Regions from separate parts of the Homo sapiens genome. Here region 1 is linked to region 2. Evidence: promoter capture Hi-C in human tissues and cell types (Jung and others, 2019). All regions are on one chromosome and are shown on one strand. The core of a region is centred on a gene start or on the middle of the fragment in contact, and the rest is flanking DNA. Distances in the headings are between cores, read along the strand shown.

Region 1 (5,349 bases), core at 2,167-4,666, 430 kb after region 2:
TAGCAAAGCCTTCCATTTTCACCTAATTCTCCTTCACTTCATTTATCCCAGCTTCAAAATATTGCCTAAGAAGTGATAATGAATAACCACTAAACCATATATTAAAGAATACATGTTTAGGAATAAGTTCTATAATCTGTTAAATTTTCCTATCTTCTTTAAGTAGACAAAAATTAAAATTCATACAATAAATTGGTTCTGTTCATAGTCTGTTCATACCACAAAATTAAAATTTGAGTTTGGATGCTAAGATGGATCACACTTAAGAATATTTTAACCTGTGTCCAGTAGCTACAGCAAGAAGTGTTCTTTTACATGATAAATTTCAATCAATAAGCAACATCATTTTATGGAGTAAGACAATGGAATGCCCATTAAAAAGGTATAGCCCTCTAGGCTCTGTCTTTACTATGGGGAATGAGCAATTGGTCTATGAAATGCTGTGCCCCCAGTCATTTCATAAATTCACCACATAAAGAATAGGCCATGTATGAATGACTTACAGGCAAAATTCACAGCCTGAAAGCCTAAGAAACTATGTCTGAAAAACTTGGCGGATCAGTAAAAAACATGTTAAATTTAAATTCCTGAAAATGATAAAATTATGTGTGGACAAGGCCAAAGTGATCAGGAGGCAGGTTTACACCTTGTGTCCATTTTGTAATCCAGTCCTCTCCATTTTGGGGTTAGCAATAGGGTGCCACACGTGGTGTAAGGCCAGCCATAGCATTCAAGCTTGACTGAATTTTAAGTGACACAGTAATCAAATATGCTCCAAGGGCATTCCAGAATTTCAGGTGCTGCTGACCATTAAAATCAACCTTCTTAGTGCTTACTTCAATTTAAACAGGATGTAAAATACAATCCTCGCATCAATTAAATATAAGCTCATATATTTCATCTATCAAAAATTAGTGCCCAGAATATATCACTTGAAAAAAAGGTATTATTATGTCTATCTAAGTAGTTATGCAACACCAGTTTAAAATAAGCAGATAATCTTCTAAAATATAGGATTTATGTATTTCCTCCAGAGTATAAAATAATAATTTGCTAAATTTAGAATGCCAATAAGGCAGTATCTACTCTTTCTATGAAATAGAAAGCTAAGCAGTAGAAGCCCGTGTATGGTATTTCATTTGGGAGACAAAAGAAGAAAGACATATTTCAAACAGATGGAAAGTGAAATATAATAAAGTTATACTTGCCTGCATTAATTTTCCTTCTGCTGGAGTTATTTCAGCAACACCAGCAAACACACCTTCCAAAGTGAGATTCAGTTTTCCTGTGGGGTCCATTTTCAAGGGGATCACTCTGATAATAGCTTTCTGTTCTGCTGATCTTTCAGACTCCACCGCTGCTGCCAGTACCAGTCCTGTGCGTCCAAAGCCTGCCTGCAGGGTAGCCATCAGCAGCCAGGGCCAGAGGGCAGCCAGCTGCAGCTGGTGGCCACCACTCATGCTACCAGCTGCAGCAATGCACTTCAACCATACATACTGCTTCCACTAGCTAATACCAAATGCAGGTTCTCAGATCCAGACAAATGGAGGAAAAGAACATTTATGCTTCCGTTTCAGAAAGCCAAGTCGTAGTTTTGGCCCTTCCTTTCTCTAAAGTTTATTCCCAAAAACAGGTAGCATTCCTGATTGGGCAGAGAAGAGGATATTTTCAGCCCACATCTGCTGCAGGTATGTCATTTTCTCCCATCTTCACTGTGACTAGTAAAGATCTCACCACTTCTCTTTGGAATTTCCAACTTTGCTTGTGATTGAATGTCACTTCGTGAATTTGTATTATGTCAGATCACTTGGCATTGCTCTTCCATATGCATCAAGTTGCCAGGCACTAAACCCAATGTTCATGAACAAAACAAGGCAAAGTAAACAGCTAAGGCCATGCATCAAAGGTGAGCGTGAAGAACTCCAGCTCAGAAAAGGAAGGGATGGCCCTTTTTAAGCCATAATATGTGTTAATGGTAAATGACTAAATACCACAAGGAGATTTTTTTTTTAATGGAGGAGAAGAGGGAACAATAATAAAAATTTCAGGCCACACGTTGATGTCCAAAGATGCTACAATATGTATTTAGAAAAGTTTCCACATTAAACTGTATTTCAGTGTGGCCAGGTTTCTAGGCCCACTGCATTTACATACTTTTCATGAACTTAGACATACCATAATTTTTTGTGTTTTACCAAAATTTGCCTATAAATTAGGTGCTAATTTATGTATCTTCACACATTACAGGATAATCCTGAGCATCACAACCTTTTCCAACTTTCATAATTAGAGTATTTGAAAAGGTTAGCTTTCCAATTATTTTTCCCAGTTAAAATTCATATTTCCATCTCCATTTTCTTTTCTCTCTTAAGGATTCTTGATTTTATTCTCCAGCTCGGAAATGCCGAGCACTTTGATTTCCCATGAGATGCTTTTGGAAACTACTTTAATATCCAGATTTTATGATCTGTAATTTTCTAGGTTCATAAGAAAAACAAAGGACTATTCCTCACATGTATCCAAATTCCCTGAGGGGGTAGGGAATAAAAGGTAGGGGGAGCAGGGAGGCGATTAACCACAGGCTCTAGGTAGAATACCCTGAAAAAATACAAATAATCTTGAGTAGAATAGATCTGTGCTATTTCTAGGCACTATGAAAATTTGCGTCTTTGTACAAACACAGAATAAGATTTTTAAAATGTGCACCCTTAAGTAAATATAAATACACCTCACCCACAAAGCCCTCTGTGTTCCAAGGTCAAGTTTAAAAATATTATAAAGTCTTCAGAATAAGTGCTGAAAAGCCAAGCAATTGAACATGAACCTGTTATATGGATTCTTTTCTTTTGCTGAGGCAGAGGGAGGGGGGAAAAAGGAATTTCAAAAGAAATCTGCAAACCTGTTGCGCTGTCGGGCCCACTGGAATCCACGGGGGTGAAACAAATTCAATTATGCTTTTACAGATCCTGCTCAAAAAAGGTTTCAACTGCTTAACCAAGTACAGCTCATTCTTCCACCTTCTTACTCTGCAACCAAACCAAGTGCCCCATACTACAGGTAGGTGCCGAGAAATTCCGCAGCCTGAAAAAATAATCCATGCAGGTCAAAGGCAGAAATTTACTCCGGGATGAGAGATGCTGTCCCCTAGAACTAAATTAAACACTTACAGAAAATCCAAAATCATTTCTGAAACCTCCTTGCTAACAAAAGTTCTTTTTTTCTCCAAACAGCATATAAAATGATCAAGTCTTGAAAGAGAAAAGAAGCAAAGTAGCAAATACATCAACAATTCACTATCAGAAACACATAAAATCCCAGAGAGAGAGAAGGCAGTATCTCTGAATCATGGATGGACTTGGAAAGTTCGGAAGGATTCCGAGTGCTTCCTTTCAGAAAGACAATTCTGGATCAACTCCCTAGAGCAGGAAGCCTGTGGTTTGTAATTGGTGTTCTAGCTCTGACTCCCTCCCCTGGGACTGCAATCACGCTCTCTACCTGCTGACAAAGTGAGGGTGGAGCTGCTAGAGGCAACCACTCCCCACCCTGCCCCCCTCCTCCTGGTGCTCACACACAACACTTACTTAACCAGACCCGTTCTTTCGCTCTCCCCCCTCCCTCAGCTCCTCTACTCCCTCTACTGAGCCACAGCTAAACTGCATCCAATTCGATCCCGAGTACCTTTCTCTGGGTAAGCAAGCTACCACATGCAAATCAGGGCCACTCAAAGATATCTAAGCAGACTCTGCACCCAACAGAGCATAGATGATGGTATGAGGAAATAAACAGAAAAAAATAAAGGTAATCCGGAAGATAAAAGAATGGACACAAGGTTTTGCAAATATAAGTTCAAAAGGATTTCTGCTCATTCCAAGTTTGAGTGTCTATAAATGGCAGAAAGCCAGAATAAAGTGATCCTGTGTTTTAGTACTTACTGATTTATTGCTGCTTATGTCTGCTACCCTGGGAAGGGCTCTGTCCATTTTATGCTTAGCTTTTCTTCAGCTCTTACTAATTTAAATTCAGTAGCTCTGTCTAAACTGTGCCTATATGGAACTTTCAAATCAGGTTGATGTCAGATGTCTGGAATCCAACTGTTATTTTCTTTTCAATCTTTGGGAGGTGAAATAATACTATGGATCAGACCTATGCCTTCAATGTAAGACTCCAAATAAGTCCATGTCATAAATACAAGCCAAAGGGTAAAATATGATTAATGAGAAGAACATAGGCAAAAAGAAAATGAATTTCTGGCTAATTACCACATTCATGAACTATAATCCTTATTACTACCCTGCCATTAGAAATAATACAACAGTTTCTAATACATTTATAACATTTGAAGTTTCAAATTACCAGATTATATTTGACTGTGGTGAGACATTTTATTTCTGAACCGCTGCCATAAACTTTCAAAATTATACAAATGAACAACAATGTGGATATAGTTAAATCTAGTGAACTGTACACTTAAAAATGGTTATGATAGTAAATTTTATGTGTTTCTTACCTCATGTAAAAACGAATCTCTGATCATCTGTAAAATGCTGATGATAATAATTACGATAGGTCTGTTGTAAAGATTAAATGACATAATGCCTCTGAAAGCAAAAAGGATGAGTAGCCTATTGACCTTCAACATTGTTTCCCCTGTAGATAAGGTTTATGACAGTAGTTTCAGAATTTCAGATCTAATAACTAACCTAGATCAAAGACAAATTCGAAAATAAATTTTTTGTTTATTTTTGTTGTTTGAGACAGGGTCTTGTGTTACCCACGCTGGAGCACAGTTGTGCCATCATGGCTCACTGCAGCCTTGACCTTCATGGCCTCCCACCTCAGCCTCCAGAGTAGCTGGGATCACAGGTGCGTCCCACCACACCCTGCAAATTTTTTTTTTTTTTTTTTTGAGACGGAGTCCCGCTCTGTTGCCCAGGCTGGAGTGCAGTGGCGCTATCTCGGCTCACTGCAAGCTCCGCCTCCCGGTTCATGCCATTCTCCTGCCTCAGCCTCCCGAGTAGCTGGGATTACAGGCGCCCGCCACCACGCCCAGCTAATTTTTTGTATTTTTAGTAGAGACGGGGTTTCACCGTGTTAGCCAGGATGGTCTCCATCTCCTGACCTTGTGATCCACCCGCCTCGGTCTCCCAAAGTGCTGGGATTACAGGCGTGAGCCACTGCGCCTGGCCAACACCCTGCAAATTTAAAAAAAATTTTTGTTGGGCCAGGCGTGGTGACTCACGCCTATAATCCCAGCACTTTGGTTGACCAAGGTGGGTGGATCACGAGGTCGGGAATTTGAGACCAGCCTGACCAACATAGTTTAATTTAACATAGTTAAACTAAAAAATA
Region 2 (5,548 bases), core at 636-3,135:
CACTTCAGTGGCACATCAATCCCATATTTTAAAATAACCATTTGAGCTTTTTTCTGGGGAAAGTATTTGCCACCTTTACACCAACCTGGATGCATGCTAGTTATATATCATTTCTTTTCCAATGCATTTTCAAGTTGGTTTATCACATTATTAGCAAGCTCATCAAAGTACAATAAAACAACACTGATCAGAATGAGAAAAGGGGGAAGTTCATGAATTCCATAATGTTGGGTATTTTAGATTTTAAGAAGCCCAAATATATTTCCATAACTACTTAAAGATCAAATTGCCCACATTTGAAAAAATATGTCTTAAAACAACAGGCCAGTCTACACAGTAGGTAATTTCTGAGTTATCCAATTCTCTATATTAACTCCACTAGGATGAATCCAGTGGCTGGGAGAATAATTTTTTGAAAATTCTGCATCCGTTCCTGTTAGTTTCAAAAGGTATCAAGCGCCCCAGCTACGCGTTTGGGATTTCACGAAGTATTCAAAGGAAAATAACTCAGAGAGGCGGGAAGAACGCACTTAAAAGTGACGAGCTTCCTAACCTCCTCCAGTTCCGAAGTTTCCCCGTGAGCTCATCGCTACTGCCCACTGAATGCTTCGTTTTGCAAACAGAAACGAAGTAGGAAAAAAATAAGTTCCAGCCTAGATCTGCCAAACAGGGGTCCCCCATCTAAAGTGGGCGGGCAAGAGAATTGCCAAAACACATCGGCTACAGTCACTTTCAAGTTTCTTGCAAAAAAGCGAAGACCAACATCCCAGAGAGTGACTCATCTGGGGGCTTTGTAAGCGGACTTTGTTTGCTCTCTCCACTTGGTTGGAGGAAACGTTCGAGGTGGGCGAGAAAGAAAAGCGCTTCGGGAGAAGGTCGGGCCTCCAGGAGTCCCGGCCCCCACCGCTCCCCGCCTGCCCCGGGCCGGCCCGGCTGGGGGATTCCCCAGGCTGAATGGGACGGCGGGAGAGCTGGACAGAGGGAGAAGGTGTCAGCTGCCAAGGCTCGGCTGAGACTTGGGAAAAAAAAATGTAAATCCAGTGAAAAAGTTTGGGGAGGGGATACACACTCACAACATCCGCCCCCCCAACTGGGTAAACACGAGAGGGGTGGTGGCGGTGAGGGGGAGTGGCGGGGAACCTGGGGATACCCGCTATTCGCGGGGACACGGGAGGGGGTCAGAAAGTCAACACACGCACGCACACACACAAAAAGACGAGGAAGGTGAAAAGAGAACAAGCGAAAGATGGATGAAGTGGCGGGGAGGAGACTCAGGGCAGGACCTGGGGACCTCCTCACCCCACCGTGGGGGACCGGGCCGGCACGCAATGGCCCAGCAGCCCGCGCTATCCAGCGGCCCGGCGCCCTCCTTTCTCTGGGCCGCGGGGTGGTGACAGCGACCGGCCTCCTCCCTTCCCCTTCAGAGCGAGAGGGAAGGGTGTGTGTGAGTGTGTGTGTGTGCGTGTGTGTGCTGGGGGGCCCCCGGGTTCACCCCGCGGCCTGCTATCTCCCCCGCACCCCGTGAGGCCGCCTCCTTTCACCTCAGCAGCCCCGCTTCGCCGGGGCGGGCGGGCGGAAAAACAAAGGGGGATTAAGGCCGGGCCGGAGAGCGGAGCCGGGAGGGAGGGGAGGAGGAGCGCCCGCCCGCCCGCCAGCCCGGGGCCCGGCCCCCCTGTCCCCCCCGTGCCCCCCCGGGGGGGCCCCCAGTACCTGGAACAGGAACGCGGTCCAGTTGGCCTCCATGGCTGCGGCGGCCGACCCCCCTCCTCCCCACTCCCCCCGCTCGGGGAGCCTCCTCAGCCGGAGGAGGCGACAACAAAGCGGCGGCGGCGGCGGCGGCAACGGCAGCGGCGGCTCCTCAACATGGCAGCGCCGAGCGCGGCCACTTCCGGTAACCTCCGGGACGCACCACCGCGGCGGCGAGCGCGGGCGGGGGGGGAGCCCCGGCCCGGCCGCCGCCGCCCCCAGTCGCCCGGACCCCCTCTGGGCGTCCCCGCTGCCGGCTCGCCGCCTCGGAGCTCAGCCAGTGCCCGCTGGCGGTGGGGTCAGGGCCCCCGCGGGGGGGCTGGGGTGGGGCCCGGGGCGGGGATGGGGCGCGGCGTCCCCCCCCGCGGGGGTGTGTGGTGCTGCGGTCCGTGGCTCAGGCAGCTGGAGCAGGGGGAGCTCAGGAGAGAAGATGGAGGACGCCAGGGTCTGGCGCTGGCCCGCTGGGCACAGCTGGGCCGTCTCCCGTGACTCAGACACGGTGTCCAGCACCGTCGCGTCCCTGTTAGACCCTCAGCGGAGGGCACAGGCCACGGCGGACACTCGGCTCTTCAGTCGCTCATGCACAGCATGGTCCCCACCTCCAAACTGGGGGAAGCCCTTTCGACTTCGAGCCTCTCTTCCTTTTGGCATTTCCTCCCCGGCCGGCTAAGCCCTCTGCGCTCTCGCTATGATATGCATCTCATGGCGAGATGGCCTTCCAACTCAAGCAGGGAATCCCACTGGGGTGCAGCCTCAGATCCTCTCAGTGTGGAGGGAAACACTTCCCACGCGTAGAGATGTCATTACTGGGTTATTCTTGGGTGAAGGGCTGAGCCTCCCCATCCTCCCCTTCACTCCAAGATAGGATGTGAAATTCTATCCCAACACCCCTCCTCTCCCGCCAAAAATAAAAACAAGTGAGATAGTATAGACAAATTATTTTAGTCCTTTAGTACAGTCTGTTTCCTCCTTCACCCCCAGAACAAAAATCGAACTTCTGGTTGGACAGCGTCAGATGTCACTGAGGTGACCCCAGCCTGTTTGCAGTTCCAAGTCTTCCGTGTAGGCGTCACTGCTACTGGAACTTTGTAGATGAGGAGCCTGTATGATGATGTCCTGAACATTTCTATCCTTTCCTCACACAGAGGGAAGCTACTGGGAATATCAGAGACAAGCTATTATTAAACAAGTGTCTCTAGTCCAAGACATCTCCTGTGGCAGGGAAATGAGGGGGCAGGCTGTATCAGTGATATTTTTATAAACTCTGGTTTTAGAAAAAATTCTTCAGATGGACGCATTATTTTAAGACTTTAACATTTTCCAAAACCAACTGAATCTTATCCCCTCCATTTATCCCCCTCCAGACACTTCTAATCAAGGTCACCATCTCCAACTTCCCCCATAGACAATAAAAATATGGCTGGAGAATTCTACTGTAATAGAAAACCAAGGAGATATAGTAATTTGACAGTGTGTTTCCTTTCCATCCACTAGACAAGAATACCCCCTCCCATTCTTTCCTCCCCTCAGTCACCAGAATGAAGGGGCTGGAAAACGTTGGTCTGGTTCCTTTTAGAGCTGATTCCCCATTGGATACTGCCTGGAGGCCTTGGGGATGAATGAGAAGTTCTGCAGTTTGGATCAGTAGCAGAAGCAGGTAACACATCAGGGAACCGGTCAGCCTAAGATAGGAGGGGACAGAAAATGATGAAAGAGTTTCTGATACATTTATCAGCTAAATTGCTATGGTCACCCCCATGTCTCCTGTAATGTCCAAACCTAAGGAATTAACTAAGTAAACTAAAACCTTTGTGTTCTTGCTCTGACCTTGGACAATGGAATTCTTCTTATTTTCATTCAGTGGATAGCAAATCTGCTTCTTCCCTGCCTTAACTCACTCAAGGTCTCTGTGATGCACTCCAGAGTTTTCCTCCTTCCCTGCATAGTCTTCTCCTCCCTAGCTGCCTTTCAAATTGGTGAAAATGAAGCTTCAGGATTATGAAAACTAGTACTTAATGAAGACCATTATTCTAATGACAATATCGCTGGACTCTTGAACTTGTTATGCTGGGATCTAGAAACCCTTTCCCCAGCAATCTTTCACACAGCACCTCTGGGAAGCGGTTTCCCACTAACAGGAAATAGAGGTCAAGTGGAAACAGTCCAGTTCTCATTACTGAAAAGCTAAGATTCAGAAGAATCACTTTTCTTGAGGAAAATGGCTAATTCTATTTCTATCCATAAGACAAAATCAGAATTGATTGCTCCTCAAACATTCTTTAAAAAAAAATTAACCTTTTAAGTTCATGTAAATTTTAAACACTGAGCTATTTTCCAGAAGGAAAATACTCAGAAGTTTGAAACAAGTACTCAAAAACAATCGGTTCCAACTGTTAGAGGAATATAATGAAACCAGTATGATCAAATGCTCCATCCTTACCTAGAAGGGGCTATTTCTACTTTTAGGACAGAAAATTTCTCTAACCAAACAAAAAGGAGCTCTCTCCTTAAGTGAGCTTCCACAGACTATATACTGGGGTCCAGTCAAAAGACAGATGTCCAAAGACAGCAAATTCATCTAGATTATTGTAAACAATTTTCGGTGAGTGAGTAAATGGTATTACCTTCAGCCATGATGAATAAAGCATCTAAGCCAAAAATACAATGTGCCTACATCTACCCAAACAAAAGTCAGATCCCCAACTTGCCCTGTTCAGGTTCCTCTCTCCTCCTCCCACACTCCAAGTTGTATAACCTGTCACCTAACCTTTTAGGGTCTCAGCTTCCTCATCTGGAAAATTAGAACAAAATATCTACCTCACAATGGTCACCTGTGGATTTAATGAGAAATATGTGTAAGATGCTTAGAACATTTTCCAGATATATAACAGATGTGAAATAAATATTTTTATTGGTGTTATCGAGTGGTTCTAGATTAACTTTGGGGCTTGGAACTCTGCACATAAGCTCTGAGCCAGTTAATTATCCCTTTTACTTTCGCCAAGTGACAGGTTTTCTCCCATCCATTTCTCCTTCAAAGAGCCCTAAGGTAAACGGGCAAAGGGCTAATGACACATAACAAAGGAAGATGCCTATTAAAATCTGTTGTTCTAAACACAACTTTTAGTAAACATTAGAAAGCAACAGGATATTTCCTTCCTCATTTGGAGAGAATTTTAAAGTCCTGTGAATACATTGAGGATGTGGATTACAGACTTAGAATCCTAGGAAAAGAAAGTATCTCTGCCGTTGTCAATTACCTGTCCCCAGCTAAGACTGCTCCACAAACTAAAAACAAATCCAAAACTTTCAGTAGGGAATATCTAGTTAGAAGCTTCAAATTGGCAAGTTAATGGACCAACTCTTTATGCAAAAAAGCCAGAACTGACAATTAACAAATTTAATAGTAAAAATCAAGATTGCAATATTTAGAAATACCAAAAAGTATTGGCCAGAAAGAAATAACCCTTCCATATCAGCCTCAATACAATCAGGAGAAAAAGCAACATATTTTCAAAGTGACACCCCCCCCATCCCCCCTTAAATACTCCAAACTCCTCAGGGAGGAAAGCAGAGGTTATCTCCTCACTGCCTGAACTGGATAAGCACACTAAGGGCTTTGAAGCCATTTGCCTTTTGCCTTTGACCCATGTGGTCAGAAGTCAGGTTTGTGTTTCAATTCTACCACCTGAAGTGTCACCAGGAGTTATTTAACTGGCAAGGTGAGGAAAGGGAAACAAGAATTCTTTTTCCTGAATACCCATTTAAGTTCCTTGACAACTGGAACAAAGTCATAGAGAGC

What was found. The method cuts DNA at HindIII sites, captures the fragments that hold promoters and counts their contacts. A contact is called where the count stands out against the background at its distance.
Region 1: a contact is called between the fragment with the promoter of RNF43 here and the fragment with the promoter of VEZF1 in region 2, in 1 of the 25 tissues and cell types used here (mesendoderm cells).

The regions. Positions count from the first base shown.
Region 1 is chr17:58,414,118-58,419,466 of GRCh38, forward strand. RNF43 (ring finger protein 43) reads right to left here and starts at 3,417. Exons shown (of 10, transcript NM_017763.6): 1 at 2,900-3,417; 2 at 1,209-1,845. The coding sequence starts at 1,460. The HindIII fragment of the contact is 9,725 bases long and covers 1-5,349 here.
Region 2 is chr17:57,986,369-57,991,916 of GRCh38, forward strand. It overlaps VEZF1 (vascular endothelial zinc finger 1), which reads right to left and starts at 1,886. Exons shown (of 6, transcript NM_007146.3): 1 at 1,711-1,886. The coding sequence starts at 1,743. LOC101929185 (a long non-coding RNA gene) reads left to right here and starts at 1,742. Exons shown (of 1, transcript XR_001752716.3): 1 at 1,742-4,666. It also overlaps a transcript of SRSF1 not described here. RefSeq lists silencers at 1,149-1,218, 1,299-1,778, 1,849-2,128 and enhancers at 2,279-2,328, 2,349-2,488. The HindIII fragment of the contact is 6,267 bases long and covers 1-4,407 here.